Linked DNA regions of Homo sapiens: regions 1, 2, 3, 4, 5 and 7 are each linked to region 6. Evidence: promoter capture Hi-C in 16 types of primary human blood cells and fetal thymus (Javierre and others, 2016). All regions are on one chromosome and are shown on one strand. The core of a region is centred on a gene start or on the middle of the fragment in contact, and the rest is flanking DNA. Distances in the headings are between cores, read along the strand shown.

The links. The method cuts DNA at HindIII sites, captures the fragments that hold promoters and counts their contacts. A CHiCAGO score of 5 or more calls a contact.
Region 1: a fragment that was not itself captured here is called in contact with the fragment with the promoter of SP140 in region 6 in 8 of 17 cell types (naive CD4 T cells, total CD4 T cells, activated CD4 T cells and 5 more); the score reaches 9.4 in naive CD4 T cells.
Region 2: a contact is called between a fragment that was not itself captured here and the fragment with the promoter of SP140 in region 6, in 11 of 17 cell types (total B cells, naive B cells, naive CD8 T cells and 8 more). The highest score is 10.9, in total B cells.
Region 3: a fragment that was not itself captured here is called in contact with the fragment with the promoter of SP140 in region 6 in 10 of 17 cell types (neutrophils, naive CD4 T cells, naive B cells and 7 more); the score reaches 11.5 in neutrophils.
Region 4: a fragment that was not itself captured here is called in contact with the fragment with the promoter of SP140 in region 6 in 12 of 17 cell types (total CD4 T cells, non-activated CD4 T cells, neutrophils and 9 more); the score reaches 11.7 in total CD4 T cells.
Region 5: a contact is called between a fragment that was not itself captured here and the fragment with the promoter of SP140 in region 6, in 2 of 17 cell types (non-activated CD4 T cells and neutrophils). The highest score is 5.7, in non-activated CD4 T cells.
Region 7: a fragment that was not itself captured here is called in contact with the fragment with the promoter of SP140 in region 6 in 9 of 17 cell types (total CD4 T cells, non-activated CD4 T cells, total B cells and 6 more); the score reaches 8.9 in total CD4 T cells.

Annotation. Positions count from the first base shown.
Region 1 is chr2:230,598,400-230,602,375 of GRCh38, forward strand. No RefSeq gene overlaps it. Among named protein-coding and RNA genes, the nearest start is that of LINC01907, 100 kb to the right of the region's middle. The HindIII fragment of the contact is 8,478 bases long and covers 1-3,976 here.
Region 2 is chr2:230,576,036-230,579,520 of GRCh38, forward strand. It overlaps LOC112268431 (a long non-coding RNA gene), which reads right to left. Exons shown (of 5, transcript XR_002959453.2): 3 at 3,119-3,202. Among named protein-coding and RNA genes, the nearest start is that of LINC01907, 120 kb to the right of the region's middle. RefSeq lists an enhancer at 2,360-2,499. The HindIII fragment of the contact is 1,685 bases long and covers 1,043-2,727 here.
Region 3 is chr2:230,553,931-230,557,733 of GRCh38, forward strand. No RefSeq gene overlaps it. Among named protein-coding and RNA genes, the nearest start is that of SP100, 140 kb to the left of the region's middle. The HindIII fragment of the contact is 1,596 bases long and covers 1,610-3,205 here.
Region 4 is chr2:230,715,496-230,719,007 of GRCh38, forward strand. The region is part of intron 1 of CAB39 (calcium binding protein 39); the gene reads left to right. Among named protein-coding and RNA genes, the nearest start is that of CAB39, 4.4 kb to the left of the region's middle. The HindIII fragment of the contact is 4,922 bases long and covers 1-3,512 here.
Region 5 is chr2:230,676,227-230,679,687 of GRCh38, forward strand. No RefSeq gene overlaps it. Among named protein-coding and RNA genes, the nearest start is that of LINC01907, 23 kb to the right of the region's middle. The HindIII fragment of the contact is 6,143 bases long and covers 1-3,461 here.
Region 6 is chr2:230,223,214-230,227,015 of GRCh38, forward strand. It overlaps SP140 (SP140 nuclear body protein), which reads left to right and starts at 2,523. Exons shown (of 27, transcript NM_007237.5): 1 at 2,523-2,690. The coding sequence starts at 2,632. It also overlaps a transcript of SP110 not described here. RefSeq lists enhancers at 2,403-2,612, 2,843-2,892, 2,963-3,042, 3,063-3,112. The HindIII fragment of the contact is 6,572 bases long and covers 1-3,802 here.
Region 7 is chr2:230,616,967-230,620,549 of GRCh38, forward strand. No RefSeq gene overlaps it. Among named protein-coding and RNA genes, the nearest start is that of LINC01907, 82 kb to the right of the region's middle. The HindIII fragment of the contact is 2,666 bases long and covers 405-3,070 here.

The DNA.
Region 1 (3,976 bases), core at 542-3,041, 370 kb after region 6:
ATTCAACCCAGCAATCCCATTACTGGGTATACACCCAGAGGAAAATAAATCATTCTACCAAAAAGACACATGCACCCATATGTTCACTGCAGCACTATTTACAATAGCAAAGCCATGGAATCAACCCAGGTGCCCATCAGTGGTGGACTGGATAAAGAAACTGTAGTACACATACACCATGGAATACTACACAGCAATAAGAAATGATTCTCCACATGGTCAGCTGGAGATCATTATCCTAAGCAAACTAATGCAGAAACAGAAAACCAAATGCTACATGTTCTCACTTATAAGTGGGAGCTGAACATTGGACACACTTGGACATAAAGATGGGAACAGTAGACACTCGGGACTAAAGAGAGGGGAGGGAGGAGGGCCAGGGTTAAAAAACCACCTATTGGGTACTAAGCTCACTACCTAGATGACAGATACAATCGTACTGCAAACCTCAGCATCACACAATAGACCTTTGTAACAAACTTGCACATCTACCCCCCACCACCAAATCTAAAATAAAGTTTGAAAAAGAAAAAATAAAAATAAAAAATTAGTTGCATTTCTATAATATATACTAACAACAAACAGCTTGAAAATGAAATTAAGAAAACATTCCCATTTACACTGGCATCAAAAAGAATAAAATACTTAAGAATAAGTTTAACGAAGGAGGTAAAAGATTTGTACAATAAGAACTATAAAACACAGATGAAAGAAATTGTAGAAGACACAAACAGAATAATTAATACCATTAAAATGCTCATGCTATACAAAGTGATCTGCAGATTCAGGCAATCCCTATGAAAATTTCAATGATGTATTTCACAGAAATTTTTTTAAAATCCTAAAATTTGTGTGGAGCCAAAAAAGACCCCAAATAGCTTAGGCAATCTTGAGAAAGAAGAATGAAGATGGAGGCATCACACTTCCTGATTTCAAAGTATATTACAAAGATATTGTAATTAAAACAGTATAGTACTTGTATAAAAAACAGACACATAGGCCGGGCATGGTGGCTCATGCCTGTAATCCCAGCACTTTGGAAGGCTGAGGCAGGTGGATCACCTGAGGTCTGAATTTCGAGACCAGCCTGGCCAACATGATGAAACCACATCTCTACTAAAAATACAAAAATTAGCCGAGCATGGTGGTGGGCACCTGTAATCCTAGCTACTTGGAAGGCTGAGGCACGAGAATCGCTTGAACCTGGGAGGCGGAGGTTGCAGTGAGTCAAGATTACTCCATTGCCCTCCAGCCTAGACAACAGAGTGAGATTCCGTCTCAAAAAAATAAATAAATAAATAAATAAAACAGGCCCATAGACCAATGGAACCCAATAGAAAGTTCAGAAATACACCCATATATACATGGTCAACTAGCCTTCAGCAAAGGCACCAAGAATACACAACGAGAAAATGATGGTATCTTCAATAAATCATGTTGGAAAAATGAAATATCCATATGCAACAAGAATGAAATTGGATCTTTATCTTACACAATACACAGAAATTAACTCAAAATAGATTAAAGAGTTAAAGGTAAGATCCAAAACTGTAAAATTCTAGAAGAAAAGAAGAGAAAAGCTCCATGTCATTGGTCTTGGCAAAGTTTTTTTGATATGACACCAAAAGCGCAGGCAGCAAAAGCAAAAATAGACAAGGGGATTTTCCACAAACTAAAACACTTCAGAGCGGCCAAGGAAATAATCAACAAAATGAAAAAGCAACCTACAGAATGGAGAAAATATTTGCAAGCCATATATCTGATAAGTGTTTTTTCTTTAGTTTTAATATCTTTTTTAAATATACTTAATTTAATTTTTGTGAGTACAGAGTAGGGGTATTTATGGTGTATGATAAGGATTAAATATCTAAAATATATAAAGAATTCATGCAACTCAATAGCAAAAAAAAAAAAAAAACACATAACCCAATTGAAAAATGGGCAAAGGACCTGAATAGACATTTTTCCAAAAAAGATATACAAATGGTTAAGGGGTTTATGAAAAGGTGCTCAACATTACTAAACATCGGGGAAATGCTAGTCAAAACCACAATGAGATATCATCTCACACCTGTTAGATGGCTATCACCAAAAGGTCAAAAGATAACAAGTGTTGGCAAGGATGTAAAGAAAAGAAAACACTTAAATGTTGTTGGTGGGAATGTAAATTCCTGCAGCCATTCTGAAAAACAGCGTGAAGGTTCTTCAAAAAATAAAAAATACGGGCGGGGCACGGTGGCTCAGGTCTGTAATCTCAGCACTTTGGGAGGCCAAGGCAGGAGTTTCAGACCAGCCTGACCAACACGGTGAAATGCCCATCTGTACTGAAAATATAAAAATTAGCCAGGCGTGGTGGCATGCACCTGTAGTCCCACCTACTCGGGAGGCTGAGGTAGGAGAACCATTTGAACTCGGAAGGCAGAGGTTGCAGAGAGCCGAGATCGCACCACTGCACTCCAGCCTGGGTGACAGAGCAAGACTCAGTCTCAAAAAAAAAAAAAAAAAAAAAAACTACCATAGGATCCATCAATTCCCACTACCGGGTATATATCCAAAGTAAATTAAGGACAGGCACAGTGGCTTAACCCTATAAATCCCAACACTTCTAGTTATACGGTATAGCCGTAAAAAGTGAAAGCATTACCTTGGATATTTGCATACCCATGTTTACAAGAGCATTCAGTGGCCATGCACAATGGCATGGTATTCAGCCATGAAAAGGGAATAAAATATTGATATGTGCTGCAGTGTAGATGGACCTTGAAAACACTGGGCTAAGTGAAAGTAGCCAGACATGGAAGGACAAATGTGTGATTCCACTGATCTGAGGTACCTAGAATAAGCAAATTCATAGAAACAGAGAATAGAATCGAGGTCACCAGGGGATGGGAGGAGGGGGAAGGAATGTGGTGTTATTTGTATAACGGGTAGAGAGTTTACATTGGGAATGACAAAAAAGTTTTGGAAATAGTGGTGACGTTTACACGAATGTATTGTGAATGTATTTAATACCACTGAATTGCACACTTACAAATGACTAAATGAGAAATTGATAATGCTAAATAGTCATATATATTAACAATGAAATGATAACTATTATGTATACTTTGCTACAATAAATAATAATAATAATGATAATGGGAGAGGACTCATGTTATTTGAATGTGGAGCTTCGTGTTAATTAGTCCAACTAAGCTATCACATGCTGCTCTCTGGAGCGTGGGGACAGACAATAGCGCTGAGCATAACTGGGGACAGAAAAATAAATTGGCGGGGGCAGGGAGGCTCAGCTTAGTTGAGAGTGGGATTTTGTAGAGAATGAATGTCATGACCAATATCAGAAGTTTCTCAGAGCCACAGTTGAGCTGCTTTTTCTGCTGGTTTCAGGTGACGGCAAAACAGTGGCACAGGTGTGGGCCTGAAGCCCGCATAATGGAGCTTTCCCCTCCTCCCTGGATTCAGCCACACCCAGGACGAATGAGGTTTGGCTGCAAAACTTAATAGTTTGGGGGGTTTGGGGGTTTTTGTTTTTTGTTTTTTGAGACCGAGTCTCACTCTGTGTCCCAGGCTGGAGTGCAGTGACATGATCTTGGCTCACTGCAACCTCCACCTCCCGGGTTCAAGCGATTCTCCTGCCTCCGCCTTCCCAGTAGCTGGGATTACAGGCCCCGCCACCATGTCCGGCTAATTTTTGTATTTTAGGAGAGATGGAGGTTTCACCATGTTGGCCAGGCTGGTCTCAAACTCCTGACCTCAAGTGATCCACCTGACTCGGCCTCCCAAAGTGCTGGGATTACAGGCGTGAGCCACCGCACCCGTCCAATTTAATGGTTTAAGAGAATATGAGGCCAGGCACAGTGGCTCACACCTGTAACCCCAGCACTTTGGGAGGCCAAGGCTAGTGGATCACTTGAGGTCAGGAGTTCAAGACCAGCCTGACCAACATGGTGAAACCCCATCTCTACTAAAAATACAA
Region 2 (3,485 bases), core at 635-3,134, 350 kb after region 6:
ATAGTGATCCTTGAAGAATTTTCATCTTTCTCCCTCAAAAAAGCCTTGTGGTACCCCTCTTCCTCTCTCTCTACCCACTTCAGAGGATCACTCTGTCACTAAATTTCACCTTCTTTTATACTGCCTCACTCCAGATATGTTTCTTACTTTCTGTCTCTCTATGTTTATCTTTTTACCTTGAACTCTATTTTGTTTTTCTCTTTTCCCTTTACCTGTCATTCTTATTTACTAACTGATCATTGTCTTGGCCAAATTTTGTGATCTTCACTTAATTAACTTAATCATTAATAAAGACCTTAAGGGCCAGGCACAGTGGCTCATGCCTGTAATCCCAGCACTTTGGGAGGCCAAGGGGGGTGGATCACGATGTCAGGAGATTGAGACCATCCTGGCTAACACAGTGAAACCCCGCCTCTACTAAAAATACAACAAATTAGCTGGGCGTGGTGGCGGGCGCCTATAATCCCAGCTACTTGGGAGGCTGAGGCAGGAGAATTGCATGAACCCGGGAGGCGGAACTTGCAGTGAGCCGAGATTGTGCCACTGTACTCCAGCCTGGGCAACAGAGTGAGACTCCCTCTCAAAAAAAAATAATTAATTAATTAAAAAATAAATAAATAAAGACCTTAAGTTCTTAATTCTTATACTTATTTCCACAAAAGTAGCTTATTACGTGTACATGTACATATAAATATAATTCTTAGGCTGGGTGTGGTGGCTCACACCTGTTATCCCAGCACTTTGGGAGGCCAAGGCAGGCAGATCACCCAAGGTAGGGAGTTTGAACCAGCCTGGCCAACGTGGCAAAACTCCATCTCTACTAAAAATACAAAACTTGTGGGGCATAGTGGTGCATGCCTGTAATCCCAGCTACTCAGGAGGCTGAAGCAGTAGAATTGCTTGAGCCCAGGAAGCAGAGGTTGCAGTGAGCCGAGATCGCACCACTGCACTCGCCCTTCAGCATGGATGACAGAGCAAGACTCCATCTCAAAAATAAATAATTAAAAATAAATAAATATAATTCTTAGAACTATTTTTGTGAAGCTTTCCATACAAATACATCAGTGATGTCATGTTCGCCAAAATATATGTCCAGTTTTTAGGGCACAGAAATATGAATACTTTCATTTCCTGACAATATGAAGTGTGCTCTTTATTATGTGCCAGACACTGTCATGCTAGGTTGGAAGGACACAGCGAGAACAAGCAGCTGTGGTCCAGAGAGAGCGCATGCTAAGCACACGATCACAACGAGGCAGGAGTTTTATCTCACAGCAAGCAAGAAGTGCTCTGGAACAGACAGGCCAGTCCAAGAGACAGGAAGAGGCCTATGGGAAGAAATATCACGTGAGCAGGAGGTAGCCAGATTAGGGAGAAGATGAGTAGGATAGAGGCCAAGAAAACAGACCCTGATAGAAGACAGCTTGGGCAAAGTAATTTGAGTAACTAAAAGAAGCCAGCGTGACTTCTTGGAGTGAGAGAATAGAGGCTGGAGAAATAGGAAGGGCCCTCATTGCCCAGCCTTGGAAGTCTAGTAAAGGGATCAACTTAAACCCAGGTATCATCATGCCAGTCATTGGAGGTTAGGCAGGAAGACAGCACAAACATACCTGAACTTTGGTACGATATAGCAGCTGAAGTTCATGGGAGAGTTATCAGAGATCTGATTAGCATCATAGCATCAGAGATAGAGAAAAATGATCAGGTGGCAAATGCCACCAAGTACAGTGCACCGGGCTCGATGGTTGATGTGGCATAGGGGTTGAGGGAGGGAAGAACTCAGGAGGATTCTTGAGTTTTTCTTTTTTTTTTTTGGAGACACAGTTTCACTCTTGTTGCCCAGGCTGGAGTGCAATGGTGCGATCTCCCCTCACCACAACCTCCGCCTCCCAGGTTCAAGCGATTCTCCTGCCTCAGCCTCCCGAGTAGCTGGGATTACCAGCATGCACCACCATGCCCGGCTAATTTTTTTATTTTTAGTAGAGACAGGGTTTCTCCATGTTGGTCAGTCTGGTCTCGAACTCCCAGCCTCAGGTAATCTGCCCGCCTCAGCCTTCCAAAGTGCTGGGATTATAGGTGTGAGCCACTTGCCTGGCAAGATTCCTGAATTTCTTGCTTGAGAAAACTTGACAGTAATGGCCATTTTACCAGAAAGGGAACTCTGGAAGAGGAGGAGGAAGGGGAAAAGGATGAGGATGTGGTTTCATGGAAGAATGTGTCTCCTCTCTCGCTGCCACACTGACCCCCACCAATTTTTTATTTGCTCTTTACACTCACTCTCACTTCCTGGCTTCTTCGTGCCTCTCCCTCACTTTCTCTGTTCCTGGTATTTACATTGACCTCATGTTTCTCTCTCTGTATGATTTTTCTCACTGTCCCTCATTTGAGTTTTTAGTTTATGTCTCCTCTGCCATGTCTCTCACTTCCTCCCCCATGTCTCTGTGTTTCTGGGGCTTCCTTTGATCCTCTGTCTGCCTTGACCCTTCCAAGCATTTTCTTCCTGTGTCTTCTCCTTGTCTGAAAAGTCGTGTCCCTCCATTCCTTTTTTGGCTTTAACTCTACCTCCAGGGCCCCTTTCCCTTGCCCTCCCCATTCTGAAGGTTGTCTACAATGACCTTTCTTCCTTGCAAATATGATGGTCACAGACCTTGTTTGCCTGATCTTGTGGCAACTTCTAGCAAATAGGACAAACATTATTTCCTTGTCAATCCTCCACCAACCTGGGAAAGCTTAGACATCATGTCCACTTAGGTAAAACTGGGCTCCCTCCTAAAACTTGCTATTCCATGGCCCAATCATCCACCTCTTCTATACTCGCGCTCCTCAGCTTCTCCACCCAGGGTGCCATGCTCCAGGGAGGCGTTCGCCTCTCCTTTCTCTCCTGCCTGGAAGACTTAGGGCATGTACTCTCGGGGTCCTGCCAGTGAGTGCCTCTCACAGTGTTGCAGCCCGCGCACATCACATGCCTCATCCTGCTTGTTTCCTTCACAAATTTGAAAGCAACCAGAGGCTGGGCTCCTGTCGGGGAGGGAGGGGAGGAAGAGAAGCCCTTCCTCCCTCCACACCATGAGATAATCAGGTAATCGGTCACTTAAAGGGCAGGATTCAATTGCAGTACCTTGTCTACCATGTGGCAGTCTGCTGGGCATCTCTTCTGACCCTCTCTCCTTTTTTACTTGGAGAGCCTCGAGTTCCCTAGGCACTGAAGAGGGAACATAAAATGAGACACCAGATCCAGTGGCCGGGAAAAGGACAGAGATGTGACCACACTGAGCGCTGCGGTTGGGAGCAGAAGTGAAATGCTCCTGGGGAAGTGATGCTCCTCTCCGAGGACCCCTGCTGAGATCCAGCCAAGCCCTGCTCTGCCTCTTCCCATCTTGTCAGACCTGGTTCTCTCTCTCTCTCCTGCTCAGCCTTCCACCAGGATCCAATCCCCAGGCTTCTGCCCTAGGAAGGCATTTCTGCATCATGGACTTAGCCAGCTT
Region 3 (3,803 bases), core at 1,158-3,657, 330 kb after region 6:
GAGAACTGGCTAGCCATATGCAGATAATTGAAACTGGATCCCTTCCTTACGCCTTACAAAAATTAACTCAAGATAGATTAAAGATTTAAATGTAAAACTCAAAACTATAAAAACCCTAGAAGAAAATGTAGGCAATACCACTCAGGACATAGGCACAGGCAAAGATTTCATGACAAAATCACCATAAGCAATTGCAACAAAAGCAAAAACTGACATTTTCACTATTAAACTAAAGAGCTTCTGCACACAAAAGAAACTATCACCGGAGCCAACAGGCAACCTAAAGAGTGGGAGAAAATTTTTGCAATCTATCCATCTGACAAAGCTCTAATGTCCAGAATCTACAAGGAATGTAAACAAATTTACAAAAAAAAATCAACTCCATTAAAAAGTGGCCAAAGGATATGAACGGACACTTCTCAAAAGACATTCAGGTGGCCAAAAAACATATTAAAAAAGCTCAGCATCACCAGGTGCAGTAGCTAACGCCTGTAATCCCAGCACTTTGGGAGGCCAAGGTGGGCGAATCACGAGGTCAGGATATGGAGACCATTCTGGCTAACATGGTGAAACCCCATCTGTACTTAAAAAAAAAAAAAAAAAAAAAACAGAAAAAAATTAGCCAGGCATGGTGGCAGGCACCTGTAGTCCCAGCTACTCAGGAGGCTGAGGCAGGAGAATGGCATGAACCCAGGAGGCGGAACTTGCAGTAAGCCGAGATCACACTACTGCACTCCAGCCTGGGCGACAGAGCAAGACTCTGTCAAACAAACAAACAAACAAACAAAAAAGCTCAACATCACTGATTATAAGAGAAATGTAAATCAAAACCACAGTGAGATACCATCTCATGCCAGTCAGAATGGCAATTATTAAAAAGTCAACGAACAGCAGATGCTGGCAAGGTTGCAGAGAAATAGGAACGCTTTTACATGGTTGGTGGAAATGTAAATTAGTTCAACCACTGTGGAAGATGGTGTGGTGATTCCTCAAAGATCTAGAACCAGAAATACCATTTGACCCAGCAATCCAGTTACTGGGTATATACCCAAAGGAATATAAATCATTCTATTACAAAGATACATGCACATGTATTTTCATTACAGCACTATTCACAGTAGCAAAGACATGGAATCAACTCAAATGCCCATCAATGAAAGACTGGACAAAGAAAATGTGGTATGTATACACCATGGAATACTATGCAGCCATAAAAAAGAATGAGATCATGTCCTTCACAGGAACAGGCATGGAGCTGGAAGCAAACTAATGGAGGAACAGAAAACCGAACACCGCATGTTCTCACTTGTAAGTGGGAGCTGAGCAATGAGATCACATGGATACAGGGAGGGGAACAACACACACTGGGACCTGTTGGGGGTGGGGTGAGGGGAAGGAGAGCATTAGGAAAAATACCCAATGCATGCGGGGCTTAATACCTAGGATATGGGTTGATAGGTGCAGCAAACCACCATGGCATACATTTACCTATGTAACAAACCTGCACATCCTGCACATGTACCCAGAACTTAAAATGAAAATGAAAAAGCCTCATAATTTTGCTAGCATATTTAAAATAAAATATCAACATATGAATACACAGACTCAAAGCTTCCATTTGTTAAACATGGACTTTATAATTATGCAGAGAATGGATCCAGTGAGTTGCTTGGATCCCTTTCATGTGGATGCACTGAGAAAGTTCAGACTCCTAATTACAATCTTTTTCTTCTTTACCTGGCCAAATTCTTGGTGAGGAATTTTGTTTCTTGACCCTATTCTTTATTATTATTTCCTAAAGGATAACAACTGCTGATCATAGGAGAAAGTAATAGAATTCTTTAGGGGTTTTGGTGATAACCAACTCAGAAGAAAATGCCATATTACAAAAAAGAAGAAAAAAAGAAACCTAGAAAAGACCTCGAAAAGTTCCAGGCTAGAATATACCCACCCACAAGCTAAATTAGTCTGCTTTTTGATTCATCTGAGGGATGATCAGAAAGGTTGGGAAAAACTTACCCACAATAGGCAACTTGCATTGTCTTGTAAAACTCTTCTTACACTTTGCTCCCTTCTGATATCCTACCCTTTCAAATCATTCTACACATTTCCTCTTCCTCTGCTCTTTTCCTCATATATGGAAGCCTTGGAAACTATGTGTTAAAGGCACTACAGCCTCCACCAACCACAGTCCTCAAACAGGTGAAATAGAGCTTTGCCCATCCATCCCATCCTCTATCAACATGGAACCCCCTTGTTTACAAGAATGTAAAACAAGCCTCAATTTTGCTTGAGCTGTTACATAGTTTTTGGTCCATTTAACAGCTATTATCCTATAACATTGAATATAGAAGTCATAATGAAAACTGGCACTGGTGATGAGAATGCTGTGGCCCATGCTTGTAATTCCAGCTGAGCCAGGAGGATTGCTTGAGTCCAGGAGTTCGAGGCTGCAGTGAGCTAGGATGGCGCCACTGTACTCCAACCTGGGTGACAGAGCAAAACCCTGTCTCTAAATAAATAAATAAATAAATAAATAGAAAGAAACTAGTACTGGAAGTGAGGTGTTGCCATAATAAAAATGGCTTAGTGATCAGGAATTTTATATCAGAGCATGGAAAATGGTTTCCTTTATTAGGCAATGGCAAAACATGACAGATTTCTTGCAAGATATATCACAAAAGGTAAACATTTTTTTAATGCCTCTAAGTCCTGTAGCTCTAGGAAAAGGAATTGGAAAACACTAACAATAGAGTCTGTTGGTTACCACTCACTGGGTTTGAAGGCTTATTACAGTTAAGAGATCAGCTCCAGCAATAATTGATTCATTTGAGAACAAAAGTGAATGGGACTCAAGAGAGTACAGAAAAGTGGGTTCTCGTAGGGTTGGAGAAGCCAAAAGAACTCCGAAGAGTAAGAGATGAGACTGAAAGAGGCTTTGAGCAACAAAAAGCTAGTTAGGGTTTCTCGATTAAACAGAGGAATTGAGCACTGAGGTAAATTTCAAAGTAAGCAAAGCCTTGACACCTAACCACCTGGCATCAGATAGCCTCAAGGGAGTACCATTCAACTAAGAGAGAAATTTGGTTTGGGAGGGAAAAGTTAAGAAATAAATCAGGCTTATGGATTAAGTTTAGAACAGAACTCTAGATGTTGTTATAAATATGTGGAATTCATGGACAATAAATCAATGAAAAGCCAACCAAGCTTTAATAAAATCACTGAAAGAACCATAAACCTGAACATAAAGTACTTTTCAAGTACTGTTCAAGCCTTAATAAAACCCTTAGTCATCCAAACTTAAACATGCAGAAAAAAGCTGTGAATACATACAGTGCTATAGAAGGGTGTGTCCCCCAGTGGATACTTCAGAGGTGGCCAAGAAGGAAATTGAAAGAGAAAATGAAAAAAAAAAAAAAATAGAGGGCACGGTCAGGAGAATTATTTCAAAAGAGCAGAATCAAAGTCAAGAAATTTCCAAATTCCTCCACTGCTAGAGGAGAGGGACCCCTTTAATCACAGCCTGGTAGATTTAGATAATAGACCATTGGCCACTGTTTGTCTCCCATTTTTCCACTTCCTAGATAGTAGTTGTATTGGGATTACTCTGTCACTCATCAAACATTGTATATTGGAAGTACAGTAAGGGAAGACAAACTTATTAAAAGGTCACCAAAACATCAAGAACATCATCCAGACCTGATAGGGAGAACTGTACTTCACACAAAGTAAGTGGATATTGGCCTGTGTGCAGTAATTATATGGGAGTTTGTGTTATCTCCTGTAAGGGAGGGGCAGGAAGA
Region 4 (3,512 bases), core at 868-3,367, 490 kb after region 6:
GCTGGTATACCATCCCCCACAGACGGCGATGCAGTGTCCCTTCCCACTCCCCACTTCGCTCCTGAAAAATAGTCTCTACACTAGGGCCATCCATATAGGTTAACTATTTTTTGAACATGACATCACGAAGACTCAGGCTGGATATAAGCATAGAATATTTCATGAAATGGTTTGCTACTATAACAAATGGGTGGTATTTGCCTTTTTGGTTTTGTTTTGTTTTTTGAGACAGGTTCTCACTCGGTCGCTCAGGCCGGAGTGCAGTGGTGCGAACATGGCTCACTGCAACCTCAACCTCCTGGGCTCAAGCCATCCTCTCACCTCAGCCTCCTGTAGACGGGACCACAGGCTCGTACCATCACATCCGGCTAATTTTTGTATTTTTATAGAGACAGGGTCTTGCCATGTTTCCCAGGCTGGTCTTGAACTGCTGGGCTCAAGTAATCTCGCCTTGTCCTCCCAAAGTGCAGGGATTACAGGCGTGAGCCACCACGCTTGCCTGGATATCTGTTTTTTTATTTCAAGGCAGCTTACTTCCCTTCATTAGCATTTTCTACTTCAGGTTCTTGTACTAAGTCAGTTTTTTCCCATGTATTTTACATTCTAAGGTGTATTAATAAGATCTCTGTTTCTGTTTCATCACGTATGAAGTAAGATGCTGAGTAAGGCTGTATACGTTTCCTAAAGTTAATGTAGAAGAACTGCTAAGAAAGTCCAGTATAAGTATGGGGTTTGGTAACTTGATTTTATTTGAATGTTTGTATATTGCAAATACGTATGCCACACAGGGTCTTTATTACCTTGGAATATTTACTAAAGTTTTCTGTTTTGATCAACTTTTGTGGGATTACAGATTTCTTTAGTTATTGCCATACTTTCCCAAGAGCCTTTTTTCCAGATTGATGACTAATCACTCACAGTTTAGCCATCTGCCATGAAAATACACAAATCCAACCTCCCCAACCCCCAAAAATAAAATTCAGTAGTAGGACGAATTTTGTTTCAGGTATTGTCTTTTGTTTACCTTTCTGGCATTGTTTCTATTCCAGCTCTATTTTATTTTTTAATTTAAAAAATGTTTTAATTAAAAGAGATGGTGTCTCATTCTGTTGCCCAGGCTGGTCTTGAACTCCTGGGCTTATGCCATCCTCCTGCCCCAGCCTCCCAAAGCACTGGGATTATAGGCCTGACCACACTGGCCTCCAGCCCTATTTTAAAAGGTCAGGCCGAGCGGGGTAGCTCACTCCTATAATCCCAGTGCTTTGGGAGGCCAAGGTGGGAGGATTGCTTGAGCCCAAGAGTTGGAGGCCGATCTGAGCAACATAGCAAGACCCTATATCCACAAAAATAAAAAATTAGCCGGGCATGGTGGTGTGTGTGCCTGTTGTCCTAGCTACTCAAGAGGCTGAGGCAGGAGGGATTGCCTGAGCCCAGGAATTTGCAGCCTCAGTGAATTTTGATCACTGCATTGCAGCCTGAGGTGACAGAGTGATACCCCATCTCAAAAAATGTATATATAAAATAAAAATAATAAAAATAAAAATTCATTTTCCTCTTTTTCATTGCTTCTTTTAATTGGGCATTTGATTTTATGAACGTCTTTACATGTTACAGAAATGGGACTGTGGAAGGTGGATTAATTTGGATAACAGAAAAACTGGTAAACATTTTTTTTTACACACTTTGATAAAATTGTGGGGAAAAAATATCAAATCTGAATCTCTGGGTTAAATTACTTGTGACTTGTTATTACTGAGGTGTAAAGATCTGGCATTATTATGAAGTCAGGTAATCTAAATTTGCATAGCAATTTAGTCATCAGTATCTTTTGGCCATTGTAAGAAGACTTGTATTAGAGCCTTCTTTAATTACAGAAGGAATTGAGCTGTGTGAGAGTTCGTACGTTCTGTGCCCTTAGTGACTTTCCGACCGGATCCCAACCACTACTTTTTAAAAAATTCTCCTGCAAGGGTGTCTTGCAGTGAGAAAGAGAGACTGGACTCAACTCCCCTCATCTCTACAGTCCGGAATATGGGGGCAGAGCAAAGTGAAGCAAATACTTCTGCCGTCACCATTTGTAGAGTAGAACAGTCTGTGAATAAAATGATCAGTGTTCTGCCTCTGTTTCTCAGGCCCTCCGAGGATTATGAGAAGAGTTACTACAGGCCTAGGTGGCAGATCATAGACTGGTGGTGATGAAATCAGGTTAACAGCTAGTTGCCATCTGCATTTTTGGGGGGTGTTGTGCCATTTCTGTCTCACTGAGCTTCCCAGTCCCACTGTGCTTTTAACTTTTAAAACAGAAGGGGTGAGGGGACAGCAGAATTGTGGTTTATAGCAGCTGTGATGTTAAGCCTGCAGAGGAAGGCAGGATGGCATGCAGAGAATTGCGGGAGGTCATTCGGGTGTGAAGTGGCTCCAAAGGAGGGAGGTAAATCCTGCCTTGGCCCTTCATGTTGACCATATCCAGTGCATACCTATTTGTATGATCTTTAATAGCTTTTGTCTTGGTACTCAGAATATAGTGTTTAAGTTATAGATTGTGTTTGCTTGTTTATGTGTGTATTCATATGCATGTTTCAAAGATGGGGAAAATCTAGCCATTATTTAGTGGCAGTTTGTTTTTATATGGTAATTATTCTTTGGGAGCATTATCCAGCAAAAATTGTTGAGGACCACGGAAGTATGATACTGTTAAAAGATCACACACTTTATTTGGTAATACATTTGAGAAACAAAACATACATTGTGTATCTTGATCTTAATTAAGTTCCTACTTTGTGATCTTGTCTCATGAACTGTAACTTGCTCTTTACAGTGTACTGACTATTAACATGCTAGTCACTGTTGTCTCCCTCCACAGTAGATTATATATCAGCTGTATTGAGGCACTAGGAAGAAATACTTGGACAGGTTTCTGTTTACATGTCTGTAGTTAAGGCCCGCTTTTAGGTTTATAGAATTTGGAGAGGTAGTGTTAGCCAGTGGTTAAAAGCGCAGGTGCAGCCAGACTGCCTAGATTTTGAACCCTCATTCCTCTGCTGTGGGCTCTATAACCTTAAGTTCCTTCTGTCTAGCTTGAATTCCTTGGATGGTAATAGTAGACCATATCTGAGAGGGTTGTAGGACGATTAAATGAGTTGCTACATCTGATGTGCTGCCGTGTATCAGATGCCTAGACATAAGTTTTGTGATGCTCATGATAGGCTTTTCCAGGGGGGAGAAACTTTAGAACTTCAGAAACAACCTAGGCAGAATGGTTCTTTCTGCAGGTGGGAACACTGAGGCCCACCGTAACTAGAGCAGAGTTTGGTTCACTTTGAGCAGTAACAGGTGTAGCTTTCTGCAAAGTGAAGTCTCTTTTCTAGGGTTTTATGGCTTATTAGCCACAGGACTGAATCTGGAGCCTGGTTTTCTTCATTCTTTGTCCAGTTTACTTGAATTAAGTATCATACTTTATGCAGTAATGTCTTCTTTTGGACCTTTTCACTAACATTTACAAAGGTTGTATT
Region 5 (3,461 bases), core at 298-2,797, 450 kb after region 6:
CAAAGGGGGTGAGGCACGTGGGATGGTGGGATGGTCACGTATGTGTGTGCCTCTCTCACAGCTCGGCGTGCTCCTTCAGAACAAGCATGGGATTGTGTTTCTCTCTGGGTCCCCACGCCTAGCCAGGCACCCTGCTGAGTAGTCTTCTTCACTAGTGCTGCCACATACTTAACCACTTGCCCTTTACAGCCCAGAGATCCCTGGGCTGTCTGCACCTATTTCTCCCCAGAGTGCCCAACAGGTCACCAAGGAGGGAGGGTCCAAGAAGGGCAAGGCAGGGCTTGGATAGGCTCCCAGGACTAAGCAAGCAACACCTACCAGCTCAGGCCTTCTTGAAATTAATTCTGGGGGTCAAGCCAATATCATTTGTAGAGCCATAAGCCCTAAGGAAGAACCCTTCAGACAACAAATCAACGAATGCAGCATTCTAATTTTCAACAAACGTATGAATTGCAACATAGCATTAATGACAGAGGCACTGGAAAAGAGTGCTGCCCTGATGGTTTCATAGGAACCACAGTTTACTCAGGGAGGCTGGCTCTGGGCATGAGGAAGAGGGCTCAGCTTTAGTGCTGCTTTATAGAAGTGTACTGGGTTTTTGTCTTGTTTTTTTTTTTTTTTCTCGTTCTGTCGCCTGGGTTGAAGTGCAGTGGCAGGATCTTGCCTCACTGCAACCACTGTCTCCCAGGTTCAAGCAATTCTTCTGCCTCAGCCTCCCAAGTAGCTGGGATTACAGGCATGTGCCACCACACCTGGCTAATTCTTGTATTTTTAGTAGAGACGGAGTTTTACCATGTTGGCCAGGCTGGTCTCAAACTCCTGACCTCAGGTGATCCACCTGCCTCAGCCTCCCAAAGTGCTGGGATTACAGGCATGAGCTACCGCTCCCGGCCTATTTTTTAATCAGTTATACTGGAGGTGGGTATGCTCTCCTCCTTCCTGACTCAGCTTAGATAGGCAACCCTGTGTCCCAGAAGATCCCTCTACTGTGCCCACACCCCATCTGCCCATGGATTAGCCCTGACCCAAAGTGGGCCAGTCACTTTCTTCTTGGGATGTGGAAGTGAGTGCAGTTTGAGAGGCGAAGCTGCTGATGCTTGAAATCCAGCTTGTGGGTGGTGCAGTTAGGAGGTGATGTGGAGTGAAGTCAGCACCACATGTAGGGCCAAGCTCCCCTGCTGCCAAGAGGAGGCTGGGGCAAATGCAGGCAGGGAGAGGCTGTGATGCTGCAGGCCAAGAGGCAGAAAGAGAGAGACAGAGAGGGAGGCAAGAGAGAGAGTTGGAAGAGAGAAAGAGAGGCTGGGACTGGCCAGAATGTGTCCTGCCTGTGGCTGTCTCAGAGGTGCCTCATCCTCATAACAACCCTTCCTTCTTGTAACTTGAGCTAATTTTATGGATTTCTTTTTTTTCTTTTTCTTTTTCTTTTTTTTTTTTTCAAATGGAGTTTTTTTCTGTTGCTCAGGCTGGAATGCCGTGGCGCAATCTTGGCTCACTGCAACCTCTGCCTCGTGGGTTCAGGTGATTCTTCTGCCTCAGCCTCCAAGTAGCTGGCATTACAAATGCTCGCCACCACCCCAGGCTAATTTTTGTATTTTCAGTAGAGATGGGTTTCACCATGTTGCCCAGGCTGGTCTTGAATTCCTGACCTCAGGTGATCCACCAGCCTTGGCCTCCCAGAGTGCTGAGATTACAAGTGTGAGCCACCATGCCTGGCCACATTTTAAAATCTTACAGTTTCTGTGGGTCAGAAGACCACACATGGCCTAGGTGGTCCTCAGTTTCAGGGCATCTCAGAAGACTGGAATCAAAGTGTTGGCCAGGTGCAGTGGCTCATGCCTATAATCCCAGCACTTTGAGAGGCTGAGTGGCACCTGGACAACAGAGTGAGACCCTGTTTCAAAAACAACAACAAAAACAAAAACAAAAACAAAAGACAACAACAACAACAAAAAACACAAGGTGTCAGTTGGGGTTGTGGTCTCATCGGAAGGTTCAGCTGGGGAAGGAGCTACTTCTAGCCTCACTCACAGGGTTGTTGGCAGGGCTGTTAGGCTGAGGCTGCCCTCAACTTCTTATTACATGGGCCTCTACAGCTCTCTTCATCAGAGCAAATGTGTGAGAAGAGCCAGAGAGAGTGCAACAAGATAGAAGTCACAATCTTTTATAACCTACTCTTAGAATTGTTATCCTATCACCTTTGCCGTATTCAATTAATTAAAGCAATTAGCTAGGTCTAGCCCACAAACAAGGGGAAGGGATTTCACAAAAACATGAATACCAGGAGAGGAGAACTAGTGGGGGCCATGTCAGAAGCTGCTGGCCACACCCCTGAACTAGAAAAACCACAAGATTACATGAAAAAGACATTTAAGGAAGGCCCTACCACAGATGGAAACCTAGCCTTGTCCACAATTCCAAGAAGATCCTTTAAGTTCTAAAGTAATCTGGTTTTGTTTTTCTTTCTGTTTTTGTTTTTAGAGAGAGTCTTGCTCTGCTACCCAGCCTGCAGTACAGTGGTGCAATTGCAGCTCACTGCAGTCTCAACCTCCTAGGCTCAAAGGATCTTCCCTCCTCAGCCTCCTGAGTAGCTGGGACTACAGGCATGCACCACCATGCCTGTGACCCATAAAGTTCTTAAGCCAATGTAACTTACTCAATTATGTTGGTGTGTCACTAAAAGAATAAAAGAGATGAAAGAAAAAAAAAAAACCTGCCCTTATGGGACATAGATCCTACAGTATGTGGGACAGAGACTGATAAAACATGAAATAAACAAGCTACATGGCATGTCTTTCCCTGCAATTCCAGCAATAAAATTCCCAGGAGAGGCTGGGGAGAGAGAAACACACACCAAAGAGTAGGTAGAGACAGTGAGAGAGACAAAGAATAAAGAAGAAGGTAGGGAAGGTGGTAGGGAGGGGGAAACGGGGAGAAAACAAGAAGGTCTAAGGAAACATATTACTTCTTGACAGCAAATACACCAAAAGCTACCGTTTCTTTTTTTTTTTTTTTTTTTTTTAGACGGAGTTTTGCTCTGTCACCCAGGCTGGAGTGCAATCGCACAATCTCGGCTCACTGCAACCTCCACCGCCTGGATTCAAGCTATTCTCCTGCCTCAGCCTCCCAAGTAGCTGGGACTACAGGTGCCCGCTACCACGCCTGGCTAATTTTTGTAGCTTTTAGTAGAGACAGGGTTTCACCATGTTGGCCAGGCTGGTCTCTAACTCCTGACCTCAGGTGATCCGCCCATCTCAGCCTCCCAAAGTGCTGGGATTACAGGCATGAGCCACTGTGCCCGGCCAAAAGGTACCATTTCTAATACAGATATAACCCTAATTGACTTGGGACTTAAATTGCAAGAGAAAGAGTTCAGCACTTGATGTGTTAGGCAAAGTATCAGCTTTCAGCCCAAAGTGTTAAGGGGATTATAAGCAGGTGTGTTGGCCTGAGGAGTATCCATT
Region 6 (3,802 bases), core at 1,273-3,772:
TTTAGTAGAGATGGGGTTTCACCATGTTGGCCAGGATGGTCTTGATCTCCTGACCTCGTGATCTGCCTGCCTCAGCCTCCCGAAGTGCTGGGGTTATAGGCATGAGCCACCATGCCCAGCCCAGTCTGACATTCTATGGGATGTCCAGGTGATCCAGATATCTTTCAACTATATTATGACAAAGGGCAAGTGAGTCAATATAACCTGCCTGGACTGCCTACTTTCTTAACCTAGTCCTCTGGCTTTCCCATACATTCTGTGAGCTACCCAATATAGTTCTAAGAAATTGACTTTTTGCCTGAGTTAGCCAGAGTCAGTTTGGATTACTTTTACTCCCAAATCCTGACTGATAAAAATGTTGGGCACCAGAGGTTGAATTATAGGCAAGAGATATTCAAGGAAATATGATCAATCTGGGATTGGTTATCTGACATAATTGGACATAAAAACAGTGAACATCCCCATTAGCGTTCAGAGTCAGGAATTTTGGAGTTGTGGGCAAATAGGGGTAAGTTGGCAAATTAAATTACAGCACTGGATTGTGATCAAGACTCTATACAATTCATTTCCCCAATTCCAGGTGTCAGATTCTAGCATGCTTAGCAAAATGAAGAGAAATCTTCCAGGTAGAATGAAAGCATTGATTTACCTTTGGGGATTATGACCTACTTGGCCTAAATCTGGATGGGGGAACAGAGCCAGGAGGCAGGCCGGAGCCTTCTGACTCCACTGGTCACGTGGCAGTAAAGGAAGACATTGGGAACCAGAGATGGTCTGATGGTCCTACATATGCCTGGCCCAGGAATCCCTTACCCAGGAGAGGTTCTGTAGTGAGCATAGGGAAAAACAAGATAGTGGGAAATAGAACTGAAATTTCAGGCTATCCTTACCTGGGCTAATGCATGGTGTTGCAAAGTAGGGCTTTCTAGTAGTAGCAGCAGTACCCCTGAAGTACCAATCTTACCACCAGTCAGCTGAGGAACACCAATGGCCTTGTGCTTATAAGCAAAAGAAGCTGGCACATTTTCAAAAATGTCCAGTTCATTGGTGTCCTGGGTCTGCCTACTGCCTAAGGGCAGAGAGAAGAGAGAGAGGGGATGCTGGAGCAGGCGGTATAGTCTGTACCAGGCCTTGTTGGAGCCCCATGGAGACTGGGAGGAGAGGACAGCTGTGTCTAACAGAAGCCCAGCATACTTTTCCTTCTTGTTTTAAAGAGGGAGGGAGAGGGAGGGAGAGAGAGGGAGAGGGAGGGAGAGGGAGGGAGAGAGAGGGAGAGAGAGGGAGACAGAGGAGAGAGAGGACAGAGAGAGAGAGAGAGAGGAGAGAGAGAGAGATACTGGAAAAGGTGTCCTCATCAGTGTTCTAGAGTTTGTCTCAACCAGATTGGTGTTTGTTCCTTTGGTAGAAAGAAAGCAGAAGTGTGGAAGGGGTAGAAATTTCTTGCACTCTGTATTTTGCAAACTTATGTATGCAAATTTCCTTGCATATGTGTAATGAACCAGAAAAAGTAGGATTCAGGAGCACATGTTTTGGAAAAATACTGCTTTGCCTCTGGCTTTTCAATCCTCACTACTGTTCTGTCACTGGCCCTGGATTCTACCCATACCCTGGCTCTCATCAGCCCCCTGTCTTTGACCCATTTTTCTGCCTGGATTTCTAGTCCTGTGGTTATATTTTTTATATTTGCCCTTTGCTTCCATTTGTTTATCACTCGACTTTATGCTGATATAGTGTGTTTTTGTAAATTGTTTCAAATCCTTTACAGAATGAGGGCTGGGTATAAATGAAAAATTGTGTGCAAACATAAATGTAATACAGCTATCCTCCTGTATCATATTGTCCTTGAAGGTCTAGATAATCTCAGCTCCAAACCCTTTCCCCATCCAGTGAGAAGGCTGTCACTCTCCTCAAGATTTCAGTGAAATGGTTGAAGCTCATTTTTTTCCCAGTCACCCCTGGCTGCTGTTGTAAAGTGCCCACATATTTGAGAAAACTTAGAATTGCACCTCATTTCTCTGCCCAACCTCAGCACTTGCCTTTGGCTGGAGGAGTTGAGAGAGTTGTCTTTTACCTCTGTCTGCTTTCATGGAGTGCTAAGAGCATCTCCCCCACTTTCTAATGCATGCTATTTCAGTTCTCCCTGGCCCCATGTCCAAACACTGGGCCTAAGCCATCCAGCCCAGGCTCACTAAGGTGCATGGCCAGCCCTGGAGCCTGACTGAAGATTTGAAATGTCTGGTCTTCACTTGTCCTTCTCAGCCACCTCAGCAAGGGGTGGGGACAAATACAGAGTTTACTTCCTCCTCATGATGCCACCTTACCTCAAAACAACTTTGATCTGCTTGAGTTGAATGACTTTTCCACCCTCTTTCCTTGGCAGGAACAAGTGACCCTGTCTTCCGTGGCCTCGTGGGGCTGGCTCTGCTCCTCCTCCCTTGACTGAGAGACGTCATGGAGATTGGGTGGAGGGAGGACTGTAGAGTTGGTGCACCCACGTCAGCTAGTTAGGCAATTTCACTTTTCTTTTCCTCTTTGACTGAGCACCGAGGGGCAGTTGGCAGCTTCACCTCAGAGCTGCAGGAAGGAACGGGGCAGTGAAAATCGAATCGGGTGTGATCCTAGGCCAAGCTCATGGCCCAGCAGGGCCAGCAGGGGCAGATGGCAAGTGGAGACAGCAATCTCAACTTCAGGTGGGTCATCGTCTCCTTTCCCGTCTGTCCTTCATCTCTGGTAGGGTTCCCTTTCATACTTGTTATTTAATGTCTACCCAGCTTCACTCTACAGGTATACAATAGAATTCAGTTACAAATAAATAACGAGGCAATCAGATTTTTTAAATTGCAGGGATTGGCTGTTGGAGAAACTCAAGGATGCCGTGACTCACATCATCTTCCTATTCTCTTACATCTGCAAATGGCTGGACTGGAGCTGTTTGAACATCATGCCTGTTCTGAGGCTTTGTGTAGGATTGGATGATTCCCCGTGACCTCTGAACCCTCTCTTCTCCCCCAGGCCTCCTTTATCCCCACTCCAAAAGACAACTCTGTCTAAAAAGGATCTTTTTAGAAGAATTAAAATCCAAACGCCTGTCTGTTGTCACACTTTCCAGGCTGTGTAGTTGGGGACCGGTTCTGCTCTGAGCCCATCTATGTGGCTCTTAGCCCTAGAATCACTTCAGGATCTCTGAATACTTGGTAGGAGGAAGTGAAAGCAGATGAGACCCAACAAAAAAGGCAAGCAGGTAGAGAGTGAGTGCTGCTTCTGCTTTTTTTATTCTTCTGTTCTGGTATTTTTTACATATCTGGTCAGAGAAGCCTGGAAATCATCTTTAAAAAATGTAAGACAATGAGACCAGTCTGACCAACGTGGAGAAACCCTGTCTTTACTAAAAATACAAAATTAGCTGGGTGTCATGGTGTATGCCTGTAATTCCAGCTACTCAGGAGGCTGAGGCAGGATAATCGCTTGAACCAGGGAGGCAGAGGTTTTGGCGAGCCAAGATCACACCATTACACTTTAGCCTGGGCAACAAGAGTGAAATTCCATCTCAAAAAAAAAAAAAAAAAAAGACAAGTACATCAATACGGTCATTTCTTCTTATCTGTGGATTCTGTATCCATGGATCTAACCAACCATGAATGCAAAATATTTTCTAAAAATTAAAAACATAAATAACAACAATAAAAAGTAATATAAAAATTTAAAATACAGTATAACTATTTGTATAGCATTTACATTGTATTAGGTATTATAAGTCTAGAGATGATTTAAAATATACAGGAGGATGTGCATAGGTTATATG
Region 7 (3,583 bases), core at 488-2,987, 390 kb after region 6:
GGGGTTTCTCCATGTTGGTCACGCTGGTCTCAAACTCCTGACCTCAGGTGAGTCGCCCACCTCGGCCTCCCAGAGTGCTGGGATTAGAGGTGTGAGTCACCACACCTGGCCTAGGGTACATTACTTTCTGCATGCTTGTTTCCTTATATGAGAATATAAATAACTATAGCATTTTTCTGAAAGATAAATTTTTAAAAGTATGTGAAAAGAACAGAATTCTTGGCCTGTGGTAAGTACTCTATAAATGGTAACTATTTTTGCCATTATTTCCATTTTCACTGTTGTTTGGAGAAGAAATGAAAAGTTGAAGAGAGTGTTTAATCAGTTCATAAAGTTGCCAGGGGACTTTAACAGCTCACAAGAGTAAAATGCTAAAAGAGAAAATCTCCAAGCCTTAGGGAAGAAGCTTAAGGGAGTTACACAGGAAGTTTAATGCCCTTTATATTTGTGTGTAATAAACACACATCATAAGAAAGGAATTCCCTTAGCCGGGCGGGGTGGCTCACGCCTGTAATCCCAGCACTTTGGGAGACCGAGGCGGGCGGATCATCTGAGGTCAGGAGTTCAAGACCAGCCTGGCCAATATGGTGAAACTTTGTCTCCACTAAAAACACAAAAATTAGCCGGGCGTGATGGCACATGCCCATAATCCCAGCTACTAAGGACGCTGAGGCAGGAGAATCTCTTGAGCCCGGGTGGTGGAGGTTGCAGTGAGCTGAGATGGCGCCACTGCACTCAAGCCTGGGTGACAGAGCGAGACTCCGTCTGGAAAAAAAAGAAAAAAGAAAAAAAAATCATTTCATTTCCAAACTTATAAATAACTGGCAACAAGTATTTTTGCAGAAAGCACTAGAGCAAAGTACTCTCCATCACAGCTGAAAAAGGGTTTTATTTAACTTGGAACAGCTGCAGGCACAGAGACTGAAATGTTCCTGCCATTGAACATTGAGTTAGGGAGTTCCCAGCTACACAGGGCAGGGCAGCATCTCTGTAGGACACCTGGAACCAAATGGGCTGAACTGGAACAGAATGAAAGAGAAATCCAGGTGGGACCAGAGAAGTAACTATTCCAAAGCCCTGCTCAGGTGAGTTTTGACTCAAGAAGAATCAGAAATCAGAAGTTCATCTTGGGGCTTCCTATATCTATTAATTTTCTGTTGTCTTTTTTTTTTTTTTTTTTGAGACAGAGTCTCACTCTGTCACCCAGGCTGGAGTGCGTGATCTCAGCTCACCGCAACCTCCGCCTCCCGGGTTCAAGCAATCCTCCCACCTCAGCGTCCCAAGTAGCTGGAGCTACAGGTGCCTGCCACCATGCCCAGCTAATTTTTGTATTTTTAGTAGAGACAAGGTTTCACCATGTTGGCCAGGATGGTCTTGAACTCCTGGCCTCAAGTGATCTGCCCACTTCAGCTTCCCAAAGTGCTGGGATTACAGACATGAGCCACTGCGCCTGGACTTGTTGTCTTAAACTCTTAAGTTAGAGAACTTTCCAGGTCATGGCTAAGACAGACATATTGACCAGAGACACCATCAAAACACTTGCAGCCCAAACTGTGAAGTCATTTCAATATGACACCCAGTGACTCCTTTTGCAATTGTCATTCTCAACCCATTTACACTCTTTCTTCTTATAAGAAGAGATTTTTTGGCTGGCTGCAGTGGCTCACACCTGTAATCCCAGCACTTTAGGAGGCCGAGGCAGGCAGATTTCTTGAGTCCAGGAGCTCAACACCATCCTGGACAACATGGCAAAACCCTGTCTCTACAAAAAATACAAAAATTAGCTTGGCATGGCAGTTCACAACTGTGGCCCAGCTACTCAGGAGGCTGAGGTGGGAGGATTGCTTGAGGCTGGGAGGCAGGTTTCAGTGAGCTGTGATCATGCCACTGCACTCCAGTCTGGTCAAAAGAGTGAAGCCCAGAAGAAAGAGAAAGAGAAGAAAAGAGAAGGAAGAGAAGGGAAGGGAAAGGAAAGGAAAGGAGAAGGAAGAGAGAGAGAGAGAAAGGAAAGAAAGAGAGAGAAAGAGAAGGGAGGGAGGGAGGGAAGGAAGGAGGGACGGAGGGAGGTAAGGAAGGAAGGAAGGAAATGAAGGGGAAACAAAGGAAGAAAGAAAGGGAAAGGAAAGGAAGAGAGAGAAAGAAAAAAAGAGAAAGGAAAGGGAGGGGAGGGGAGGGGAGAGGAGAGGAGGGGAGAGGACGGGAGGGGAGGGGAGGGGAGAAGAGAAGAGAAGAGAAGAGAAGAGAAGAGAAGAGAAGAGAAGAGAAGAGAAGAGAAGAGAAGAGAAGAGAAGGTCACTTCCAAGATGGCCAAATAGCAACAGCTCCAGTCTGCAGCCCCTAGCGAGATCAATGCAGAAGACGGTTGATGTCTGCATTTCCAACTGAGGTACCTGGTTCATCTCACTGGGACTGGTTGGACAGTGGATACAGCCCATGGAGGGTGAGCTGATGCAGGGCAGGGTGTCGCCTCACCTGGGAAGTGCAAGGGGTTGGGGGATTTCTCCTTCCTAGCCAAGGGAAGCCATATGACAGACTGTACCTGGAGAAATGGTATACTTCTGACCAAATACTGCACTATGCCCACAGTCCTAGCAACTGGCAAACCAGCAGATACCCTCCCATGCCTGGCTCAGCGGGTCCCATGCCAACAGAGCCTTGCTCACTGCTAGCACAACAGTGTGAGATCAACCTGCGATGCTGTAGCTGGACGAGCGGAGGGGAGTCCGTCATTGCTGAGGCTTGACTAGCTCACAGTATAAACAAAGAGGCCTGGAAACATGAACCGGGCGGAGCCCACCTCAGCTCAGCAAGGCCTACTGCCTCTATAGATTCCACCTCCGGGGGCATGGCATAATAGAACAAAAGGCAGCAGACAGCTTCTGCAGGCTTAAATGTCCCTGTGTGACAGCTCTGAAGAAAGCAGTGGTTCTCACAGCATGGCATTTGAACACCAAGAACAGACAGACTACCTCCTCAGTTAGGTCCCTGACCCCCATGTAGCCTGACTGGGGAACACCTCCCAGTAGGGGCCAACAGACACCTCAAACAGGCGGGTGCCCCTCTGGGACAAAGCTTCCAGAGGAAGGATCAGGCAGCAATATTTGCTGTTCTGCAGCCTCTGCTGGTGATACCCAGGCAAACAGGGCCTGGAGTGGACCTCCAGCAAACTCCAACACACCTGCAGCTGAGGGGTCTGATTGTTAGAAGGAAAACTAACAAATGAAAAAAATAGCATCAACATCAACACAAAGGACATGCACACCAAAACCCCATCTGTAGGTCACCAACATCAAAGACCAAAGGTAGATAAAACCACAAAGATGGGGAGAAACCAGAGCAAAAAAGCTAAAAATTCCAAAAAACAGAGCGCCTCTTCTCCTCCAAAGGATCGCAGCTCCTCGCTAGCAAGGGAACAAAACTGGACAGGGAATGATTTTGAAGAGTTGACAGAAGTAGGCTTTAGAAGGTCAGTAATAACAAACTTCTCCAAGCTAAAGGAGCGTGTTCTAACCCATTGCAAGGAAGCTAAAAACCTTGAAAAAAGGTTAGATGAATGGCTAACTAGAATAAATACTAGAGAATA